Regions from separate parts of the Homo sapiens genome. Here region 2 is linked to region 1. The links are contacts of gene promoters, found by promoter capture Hi-C in human tissues and cell types (Jung and others, 2019). All regions are on one chromosome and are shown on one strand. The core of a region is centred on a gene start or on the middle of the fragment in contact, and the rest is flanking DNA. Distances in the headings are between cores, read along the strand shown.

Region 1 (5,582 bases), core at 915-3,414:
TGCAGTAGATGTGATAAAGAGAGTCATGTATTTTTTGATGCTATTAGCAGGGCACAGATACATGCCTTTCTTTTTCTCTTCAACGTCTTACTTCTTCCATCCCTCCTTTGATATTCACAGAAAATTCAGAACTAGTGTCCTGGTCTAATTTGAGGTTTTTTTTTTTTTTTTGAGATGGAGTCTTGCTCTGTCCCTCAGGCTGGAGTACAGTGGAGTGATATTGGCTCACTGCAACCTCCACCTCCTGGGTTCACACAATTCTCCTGCCTCAACCTCCTGAGTAGCTGGGATTACAGGCGTGAGCCATGACACCCAGCTATTTTTTATATTTTAGTAGAGACGGGGGGTTTCACCATGTTGGCCAGGCTGATCTTGAACTCCGGACCTCAAGTGATCCACCTGCCTCGGCCTCCCAAAGTGCAGGGATTACAGGCCTAATTTGAGTTTAATTCCAAGATTTCTGTTTCTGATTTTCTTTCATGCTTCCTCCCCGACACCTAAGATTAAAACATAAATTCTGTGGCTGTAAATTCATGAGATGAATAAAACAAATACAGTTAAATCCATTATATGTATGTATGTACGTGTGTGTATATATATGCATGTATGTGTGTATGCATGCATGTATATGTGTGTATGTGTGTGTGTGTGTGTGTGTGTGTATCTATATATGCACATATATAAACCTTCTGCTCTTTACATTTATTTTGCTAGGAGATGAATGTTGGGAGTTGAGGGAATTGGTTTTTCAAATTATTTCAGAGGAACAAAATTAAGTTTCATAGTGAATTTCAACTTTTCCATTTAATAACTCCCAGGCAACACTTCTTTCACAACCATATCACATTTATCTATTGCTTTGGGACATTCCTTCACTTTTGACTTTATTCTCTCTGTGGTGTGCGACAGCATTTGTTTATTCTTTATCATCACACTTTCCTCCTCTCTTCATTCCCAACTTGAAGTTATCTCCTCTTTCTTATCTGGAAAAGACCTTACATTGTGAAGACCTCAGCTTTCCATAAAGCCGACCATTTGCAAAGAGTTGGTAATTTCTGTGTTCTGTGGCATTTCACAGATGTGTTCCCCAGGAGATAGTCATTATTTTACAGTGCCTCAGCTTTAATATCTTTTTTCTCACATGAAGATAAAACTGAAAAACAGAACATATCACCCCTACATTTCTTAATATTTTATCGTTTTAGATGAGTTTTCATCTTGTGAAAAGTTGCATTCCATCAAGGGATAATGATGTACATTCTGTGCTGTGTAAAAACAATTTGCTTTTGAGGATTGCAGTGCCCTACACAGAGTGAATATTTACAGCTATGTCCCTTTCAAAGTCACCCCTGGAGCTGCTAATTTGAGCTGTCTCCACGAGTCTCAAAAGAGGTTTCTGTCTAAGCTGTCAATTTCCAGGTGTCATACATTAAAATATTTTTGGGGAGAGGCTAAGTAGTTACAGAATGATGCTAAAGGATTCTCTATGTTTTTGGACTTGGATAAACTTCAATAAAAGAATTGCCCATATTACAAAATCTACTTTCCCAACAAGAACCATTCCAGGCAATCTGAAGGAATAGGACCTGTGGTATTTCTTCTGTGGATTTCTTCTGATCTTTGTCTGTTCTCTTCTATCGTAGTCAAAATAGGAAGGGGTGTGTGTGTGTGTGTGTGTGTGTGTGTGTGTGAGAGAGAGAGAGAGAGAGACAGACAGACAGACAAGGGGTAAGGGGGGGTAAGCAGGGTGAGGAGGGTGGATCCTGCCTTCCTTCTGTGGCTTCTGCCTTTCTCAGAGAACTTCAGAGGATGGCTATAATGCCTGTTCTAAATGAACAACATATGACACATATTTTCACCTCCCCAACACCCCCTCCACGGGTTTCCTATGTGTACTTCAAATGCCTGATAACCTTGGTATGAGAACTGGTTGTGTTACTCCGGCCTTAATCCCTTTATCAGGCAGCAAGTTTTTCCTTTCCTAAGGAGCGAGCAACTAAGCCCAGGGTCCAGCATGGGCTTTGTAAAGAGCTGCTCGGTCTCCTGAGCAGCAGCCAGTGACAGCTCGTCTGGGTTTCATCAGCTCCCTGGGGCTGCATTTCACCAGGCCCCCTTGCCAGGGCCTCCCCAGCGTGTCGTGTCAACAAGTGTCGCACCTACTGCAGAAACAGCCCTCAAGTTTCATCACAGGGATGCTAAAATATATTCTCCAGCTTCAGCAATGACCTAGTTCACTGAAGGGCGGGGAAAAAATGCTCTTCTTCCAGAACTTCCCCGGGCATGGAATTTCCCCTCTTAGGAAGAGATGAACTTTCTGGAAGCAGACCCATCTATGCTTTGACCTGATCATGGAAGACCCTGAGCCCTATAAACTCCTTTGAATCCCTGTCCCGGGAACAGGGACACCCAATCAATGCCTCACACACAGCCTGGGGAATCCACAGCTGAGCCAGCCCTCCTACAACATTTCTTGGACAAAGAGTACTGAAAAGTAAGTATGTAGACTTTGGTTTTTACATAAGGAATGGCTGTGCTTTCAATATATAGTTGTTTACATTTTCTGCAACAAAGAACAAAGCAGATGGTTTCCTGATGAAATAGAATGAGATGAAACCAATAGGGATTATATGGGATATTTGGGCATATAAGGTTTTAAAGTGGGCAAACTCTCATGGTCTTGTAATTTAAGTCCATTTTGACCCTTTTTGAAAATTATTGCTATTTTTAAATTTGCTTATTTTGGCTTGACAATAATGAATGAAAACAGTTTCTTTCACATCATGTCTATCTTAACAGTTAGAAAAAATATACAGAATGACTCAAACGAGTGATATGTAAAGTTTTGCAAAGCAACATAAAAAGTCAACTATCCAGGTAACTCAGGCCCCAGAGACTTTTGTCTGAAATATTTGAGTATTTTAGTCAAGAGTTATTCCTTTTACTGTGAATTAACTGAATGATTGAAAATCTCTCCTATCTGGGTAGACACAGGAGTATATTGTCTGACAACAGGTAATGCAATTTGCTGAAAAGCTATCAGGCTTTTCAAAATGGCTGATGTAAACATTTATCGAGTTGTTAAATAGATTTAAAAAAAAATTTAAGGCAAAAAGTCAGCCAAAAAAAAATCCATCAATTAAATGCCACCACTGTCACATTACAATTTAATGAACACATCTAAACTTTAAAAGCCTTGATTAAGGGTGTCAGTTACAGACATTTGGCAATCATTTAAAAATAGATAAAAGCAAGAACGGCATTTAGAGCTGCTTCTGCTCTAATTATTTTCTTTCCACAACCTTTTCCTTAAGTAAAGGTAGCCTTTATTTCTAAAGATTAATTAACCAGGAATGGTCATTCCAGAGATATGTGATATGTTTTATAACTCTATATCAACTAAGGACAAATTGAAGGGGTTTTTTGCTGTGTGGCTTCTGAATTGAAACCAAGGATGTTGTGGGTTACCTTCCGAATCAACAACTTCACAAATCCTGTATTAAAAAGCATGGATGGCCAATAACCATGTTCAGATCTTGGAAATCAGGACTTAAAACAAACTAAATGAACTTTAGCTCCCAAATATACATTGTCCTTTTTTTGTTTTGTTTTGTTTGTTTGTTTTTTGTTTTTAGATAGAGTTTTGCTCTTGTTGCCCAGGCTGGAGTACAATGTCTCAGTCTCAGCTCACTGCAACCTCCGCCCCCTGGGTTCAAGCGATTCTCCTGCCTCAGCCTCCCAAAGTAGGTGGCATTACGGGTGCCTGCCACCATGCCCAGCTAATTTTTTTTGTATTTTTAGTTGAGATGGGGTTTCACCATGTTGGCCAGGCTGGTCTTGAACTCCTGACCTCAGGTGATCCACCCGCCTCGGCCTCCCAAAGTCTTGGGATTACAGGCGTGAGCCACCGCGCCTGGCCTACATTGTCTTTTTGATGTTTTTACCAAACATTTAATCATAATTTTGGGAAGCTTTTAGGTAGGGCAGAGTTCCTATTGTCATTACCTACAAAGTTTTTTTCTCCTCCAGTTTCATGAGTTTTTAACAGCCTCCTGAACACTTGTGTGTAGGTATCAGCCCCTGTGATGCGATGCAGTTGAGTTAGTATCTTACTCTGGATGGAGGTGGGAGAAGCAGGGGAGGTCCTGAGAAAGGCTTTGGAGTCAGATTTGGAATCGACTCCTAATTTTAGCATAACTTTTCAACCTGTTTGAACCCCAGTTTACTCATCTGTAAAATCTTAACAGTATTCACTTTAACAGGATTGATGGGGGATTAGATGAATAAATATACCTAAAGTATGTGTCGAATCATAGTTTCTCAATGAAAGTTAGTTTTTCACCTTAATTAAAAGCTTCTGTCTTTTTTTTTTTTGCTAAAACTTTAGAATACTACCATAAAATAAACTATATAAAGTAATAGAAACTATACATTATCTGCATCAGTGCAATACAACATAACACAATTAGATTCTTTGAGAAAAATTCTGTACTTGGAAACAATGTGTTTGAAAATTAAAAAAAGATATTTTAGAATGTATCTATGATAAATAAGAAAAAATTTTTTTTTACTAAAAATAGTTGATGGATAATTGATGCTTATTATCTAAAAGCAGAAGTAGAGATTTATCAACATCCTCTGGGAATGCTTTTTAATACATATCATTACCATATTTAAATATGAGTGTTTGGGAATCCATAGTAATGAAAGGCCTGTGATCATGATGAAAACTATGAAAATGAAGGCACACGCCCAGCCTTTCCTCAAAGATTATAGTCGAGTCTTGCATTGAGAGAGGTGGGGGCGGGAGTGGAGGTGAAAACTCTTTGAAGTGGACTAGCCTTTGGAGGAGCAGAGCAGGGGCAGTAGCTTTGGGCCAACTCAGAAGAAGTGTAGTTTCCAGGATAGGGATCGCACCGTGGGCTAGAATTGCGCGGGGTCAGTGATAAAAGTACACAATGAATAGGGAGAAAGGCCAGGCAGGGATGGGAGGGAGCAGACGAGATTCACAAGCGGGCTTGTGGGCTAGCTCCCAAGAACTTTATCAGACATCTTTCTTGTTGCCCCTTGTTTTTACTGAGATACCCCACAGCTCTTTCCCAGGCCCATTGGAGTACCTCGATACATTCTTCGCTTCGGTTACAGACAGGTTCACAAGGAACCCAGGATACGTTACTCTGGGTTGAATGCTGCCAAAAAGAAAAACTGAAAATGCAAACATGTAAAGCAACTTGGGAGAACGTAATCACGTCATCTTAGGGTTGGCGAAAACGAAAGAATAAACACCTGACCTACATCAAATAAAACATTTAAACATGTTTCAAGCCCTTATTGGGATTTCCGCCTATGCACACCCACCTGGCATGGGCCAAATAGACAAAACTGATCAGGAGACTTCAGACATCAGCTCGAAGAGACAGGCAGCAAGTTGAAGAGAAGCTCAATTCCGAGAGTTCAGTTCTGGTTACACTGCACCCTCCCTCTCAAGGGCCAGCCCTTCCACTGCAATCCTCATGTCCTGGCTGCACAGCCCACCTTGATTTTCACTTGATTTTCAATCCTGCTCTTAGATAACCAGGCCCCTG
Region 2 (5,582 bases), core at 1,308-3,807, 350 kb before region 1:
TTCAGGGAAAGAAAGCAAATGACACGACTGAAAACCATCCTTCACGGTGGTTGATAAATGATCGGTTCTCTTACTTTAGAGCTGCCAGGAAAACTTGTGCTGAACGCTTTGGGATTTAGGGGCTTTAAAGCTGTGTCTGCCACCCCACCCGGAGGCCCATGCCTTTCTTCCACTCCACAGAGAAACCTAGTAGCTGTTAGCAGGCATTGCTCTGCCAGTGGGGCACAACAGTGGACAAATGAGCTCCTAGCTTCCTGAAATTTGTGGCAGCGGAGTTAGATGAACAGAAACAAATGAGAAAATATGCAGTATGTCAGACCCAGGACAGCCAAGCAGGGTGGGATGAGGGCCATGGGAAGCAAGGGGGGGGTATATGTGTGGCTGCTAGGTGATGTGGTACGGTCAGGGACAGCCTGGTGACAGGTGACATTTGAAAAGAGACCTGACGCAGTGTCGGGAAAGCAGTCCAGGCATAGGAAGCTGTGAGTGCCAAGGCCCAAGGTGGGAACAGGCCTGTGAGTGGGCAACAGAAGAGGGGCTAGAGCCAGTAGGAAGGAGTGCTCAGGGAGACTGCAGGAGGTGAACTGTAACGCCCCTTGTGGGAGAGAGTGTCAGGATTTTGCTTTTAGACTGAGAGCCTCTGGAAGCTTTCCCCACCCTTTCCTGCCTCCTCACCTTCACACCATTTCCCCTACTGCGTCTGCTTCCAGGGCTCTAAATCCCACTCTGAATCCCCTCCCCAAGCCAACGTGCCCCTCCTCTCCGCACTCTGTGCCCCAGCTTTTCTGCTCTGTTCATGTGCACCTTCACACGTGGCCATGACCTGAAGCTACCTTTGCACACACTTTCTTTTTTTTTAAGACGGAGTCTCGCGCTATTGCCCAGGCTGGAGTGCAATGGCATGATCTCGGCTCACTACAGCCTCGGCCTCCCGGGTTCAAGCGATTCTCCTGTCTCAGCCTCCCAAGTAGCTGGGACTATACGTGTGCACCACGATGTCCAGCTAATTTTTGTATTTTTAGTAGAGACAGGGTTTCACCATATTGGCCAGGCTGGTCTCGAACTCCTGACCTCGTGACTGCCTGCCTTGGCCTCCCAAAGTGCTGGGATTACAGGTGTGAGCCACCACGCCTTGGCTTCACACATATTCTTTAACTCACCACCAGGAGCACTTGAAGTATTGCATTTTAATGCCACATCAGTCTGACTTATATTCTGAGGAGGTTTTACTCGATGATTAACTCCTTGAAAGCACATACAAGCTTTTACCTGGGTACATTCCAGATCTAGCATAGCACCGAAGACAGGAGGGCTTTTTAAGTATCTGCTAACTTTTTTTGGGGGGGTGGAGACAGAGTCTCGTTCTATTGCCTAGACTAAAGTGCAGTGGCGTGATCTTGGCACACTGCAACCTCTGCTTCCCAGGTTCCAGCAATTCTCCTGCCTCAGCCTCCTGAGTAGCTGGAGATTACAGGTGTGCACCACCACGCCTGGCTAATTTTTGTACTTTTAGTAGAGACGGGGTTTCACCACGTTGGCCAGGCTGGTCTCGAACTCCTAGCCTCAAGTGATCTGCCCGCCTCAGCTTCCCAAAGTGCTGGGATTACAGGCATGAGCCACTGTGTCCGGCCTAAACTATTTCTTTAAACTTTTCTCTCAAAAAAACAAAAAAAGTCCTGCTCTTGTCCCCCAGGTTTGGGTGCAATGGCTTTATCTCGGCTTACTGCAACCTCTGCCTCCTGGGTTCAAACGATTCTCCTGCCTCAGCCTCCCAAGTAGCTGGGATTAAGGCGCCTGCCATCATGCCTGGCTAATTTTTGTATTGTATTTTTTTAGTAGAGATGGGGTTTCACCATGTTGGCCAGGCTGGTCTCGAACTCCTGATGATGAGGTCAGAATGGGTCTATGGGGAGATTAATCATTATTTTATACTTTCAGTGTGGTCTGATTTTTTTTTTTTTTTTTTTTGGGAGAGTCTCGCACTGTCGCCTGGGCTAGAGTGCAGTGGCATGATCTCAGCTCACTGCAACCTCCACCTCCCAAGTTCAAGCGATTCTCCTGCCTCAGCCTCCTGAGTAGCTGGGATTACAGGAGCCCGCCACCACGCCAAGCTAATTTTTTATATTTTTAGTAGAGATGAGGTTACACCATGTCGGCCAGGCTGGTCTTGAACTCCTGAACTCGTGATTTACCCGCCTCGGCCTCCCAAAGTGGTGGGCATGAGCCACCGCACCCAGCCAGTCTGAATTTTTAAAACTGTAACTATGCAACAAAAACTTGAAAGGAAAAAAATGAATGGGAAAAGCAAGTCAACACAATTTCACTGTAAAGCAAACATCTGCAATGTTAGACCTTAGTGTCTTCTTTTATTTCTGTTTCCTCCTCATTGGTGGCATCTGTCATTTCTTTCAGGTCAGGGTCCTTGATGCCATGCATCAGCTGGACGTGCTTCTCCAGCATCAAACGTTTGGTAAAGGTACGTCTGGAGTCTGGGCAGTGCCTGTGGGGTGAAAGGCAAGGAGATAACGCACTTGCTGACAAAATAAGCTCCTGTGGAAGAACTCACGGTCGAAGGTCCTCCTTAGCCGTCAGTTCACACAGACAGGTCCAATAAGCTGAGTTCACACCATGGTTCAACACGCAATCAGCAATTTTGCTAGGAGTGGCCCTTAATTTACAGGTCTAGATGGCTTTAATTTTAAAGGGAAAATATTGCATTTCAAAAGAAGTTTTCACAATGACTCAGTATTCTCTCAGAATGAGCACCATGCTGAACACATTAGTATAAGGTCCCTCCTTGACTCCTTTGTGCTGCTGTTAATTATCCCTGTCCTCTGCCTTGACAAAGACATGAGTGTCCAGCGCCAAATTCTTCCAGGCACAAAAGCAGCATGCATGTTTATACTCATGGCAGTCGAGTGTGTATGGTCACTCAGTAGATGATAAGCAGATCAAAAATAGGTCAATTATTTTTCAAAGAAAAACTTATTTTAATAAAGCAGGCCAAAGATAGTTTAGAAAACAGGCTGGCCAGGTGCAGTGGTTCACGCCTGTAATCCCAGCACTTTGGGAGGCCGAGGCAGGCAGATCACCTGAGGTCGGAAGTTTGAGATGAGCCTGACAAACATGGAGAAACTCTGTCTCTACTAAAAATACAAAATTAGCCGGGCATGGTGGTGCATGCCTGTAATCCCAGCTACTCGGGAGGCTGAGGCAGGAGAATCGGTTGAACCCAGGAGGTGGAGGGTAGGGTGAGCCGAGATCATGCCATTGCACTCCAGCCTGGGTAACAAAAGCAAAACTCCGTCTCAAAAAAAGAAAAAAAAGAGGTAATGGCCCTAGTTATTATGTATGCTATAAAACCAGGTATCAAGAATGCTACTGAGGGAAGGACAAAAAGTCTCTTGTGGTCTCAAATCTGCCTTCAAAATAGCTTCGGAGGAATTCATACTGATTGGCCCTAAACCCTGATGACCTCACATTAGAGACACTTGCAGGGCAGTGGCAGGAGCCAGCACCACCCCCAAAGGACGAGGGCTCTCCATGAGGATGAATTTTTTGTTGGCCGTAAGTTAGCAGAACAATCCCAGCATTTTACTGCTTTACAGTGAGTTCATGGGGAAATAAACAAAACCTATCAGTGAAGCATTATGGGCCAGATCTCCCATCGTCTTCTTGGCCCAGAGCATCCTTCTAAATTCTGATTCTTTTGATTTGGTCTCAACACATACTTTATTCATAATCATTCTTATCTCACTAAACAGCTTCAATTTCACTGAATCAGATGATTCCTACCCGGTTATCATAACCCCCTGCGAATCTGACAGCCAACCTTCATAAGTCTCCTGATCCATAGGGTCCATCTGGCCTGCACTGACATCCATGTAACATTTCAGTGCTTTAGCCTCAGGGTCCTTTGTCTCTCTCTCTCTCATGAGACATGCTTTCTTCTTATCAACCCACTCCAGGTATATTCCAGCTGAGTGACAGCCTTTCACTAATGATGAGATACGTTCTGGTGTTCACGTATGAAGCAGCAGCTTATGACTGTCCACTGGAGTCTGGGTTGATGTTGGCCCACCCAGTCCCTTGCATTTGGTCACAGGCTGCCCCACCTTCAGTGGTGACTGCAGCCAAGGGGCAAAGGGCCCAGCCGAGGACTGAATCTGTGACCAGCCCTGAGTAAACAAGCTAGCCAAATCACCTCGCCAATGTGGCCAACTCGACATGTGCAGAGAGACCCTGTACTGCCAATCAATCGCTCCCCCAAGACACTCAGGGATCAGGCTGGGTGCCAGGGCTCATGCCTGTAATCCCAGCACATTGGGAGGTAGCAGGTGGGTCACCCAAGGTCAGGAGTTTGAGACCAGCCTGGCTAACACGGTGAAACCCCGTCTCTACTAAAAATACAAAAATTAGCTGGGTGTGGTGGCATGTGCCTGTAATCCCAGTTACTCAGGAGGTTGAGGTAGGAGAATCACTTGAACCTGGGAGGCAGAGGTTGCAGTGAGCCAAAATTGCATCACTGCACTCCAGCCTGGGCAACAGAGTGAGACTCCGTCTCGGGAAAAAAAAAACACACAATGTATGTGGGATATGCAAGAAAATGCTCCTTTTTTTTTTATTTTCATATTTAAGTGTGACAACCCAATCCAAAAACTCTATGCCAAAACAATAATACAATTGAGAAATGTAATGTAGGAACTGTGGAGCACACAGCAAGTTAATGGTACTACACTAAAAACCTTCCAGAGGTTCCTCCTGAGTCCTCTCACTGCGTTCCGTTAGAAACCAGGACTTACGAGCAGGCGTACACTTTCCTGATGCCTTTGTGCTTGATCCGGTTGTGCCGGCACAGGCTGTGGGACGAGCTGAAAGACTTGTCACACTGGCGGCAGGGGTGTTTCTTCATTTGCTGGAGGAAGGAGAGAAAGTTCACTTAAGGGAATGAAAATAGATGCACTCAAACAATTAAGAACTCTTTTGTAATAGTTTAAGTTAAATCATTATTACAGGTCCCCAAATCCAAAACTGAGGGTTGACATGACACTACACATGGAAAATGTCATATCTGACCTCATGTGACGGGTCACAGTCAGAACTGTGTCATGCACAAAATTAAAATTATTTTATAAAAGTCCCTTCAAGCTATCCATATAAGGTATGTATGAAACAAGAATAAATATCACAATTAGAGAGTCCCAAGATATTATGTATATTTGAATATTCCAAGATCCAAAAACATCTAAAATTTGAAACACTTCTGTTCCCAAACTTTCAGCTCAGGGATACTCAACCTGTATTTAGGAATACAGTAACAAAACCAAAAAACTTTTTAAAAATATATAATAAAAATGAGGACAGGGCTGAGGTAACCATGATGGGGCTAATTTTAGGAGGATGGGTTAAACTATCATAAGGGTAAAAAAAATTCTCTCTCAAAAACACAGGTTTTTGATTCAACACAAACATCCAGGTATTTGAAATAACATTATATAAATCTTTTACTGAAAAGATAATATATGAAACCATACATCAGTAAATACTAAGTAAAGCCACTACCTAATTTGTGGTAGATAGAA

What was found. Contacts are between HindIII fragments. The study calls those that stand out against the background at their distance.
Region 2: a fragment that was not itself captured here is called in contact with the fragment with the promoter of ALPK2 in region 1 in 1 of the 25 tissues and cell types used here (mesenchymal stem cells).

Annotation. Positions count from the first base shown.
Region 1 is chr18:58,625,673-58,631,254 of GRCh38, reverse strand. ALPK2 (alpha kinase 2) reads left to right here and starts at 2,164. Exons shown (of 13, transcript NM_052947.4): 1 at 2,164-2,491. It also overlaps the pseudogene RPL9P31. RefSeq lists an enhancer at 1,605-2,147. The HindIII fragment of the contact is 9,768 bases long and covers 1-4,160 here.
Region 2 is chr18:58,978,388-58,983,969 of GRCh38, reverse strand. It overlaps ZNF532 (zinc finger protein 532), which reads right to left. Exons shown (of 10, transcript NM_001375912.1): 8 at 4,803-4,915; 9 at 2,353-2,500. Among named protein-coding and RNA genes, the nearest start is that of ZNF532, 120 kb to the right of the region's middle. RefSeq lists an enhancer at 1-360. The HindIII fragment of the contact is 3,204 bases long and covers 956-4,159 here.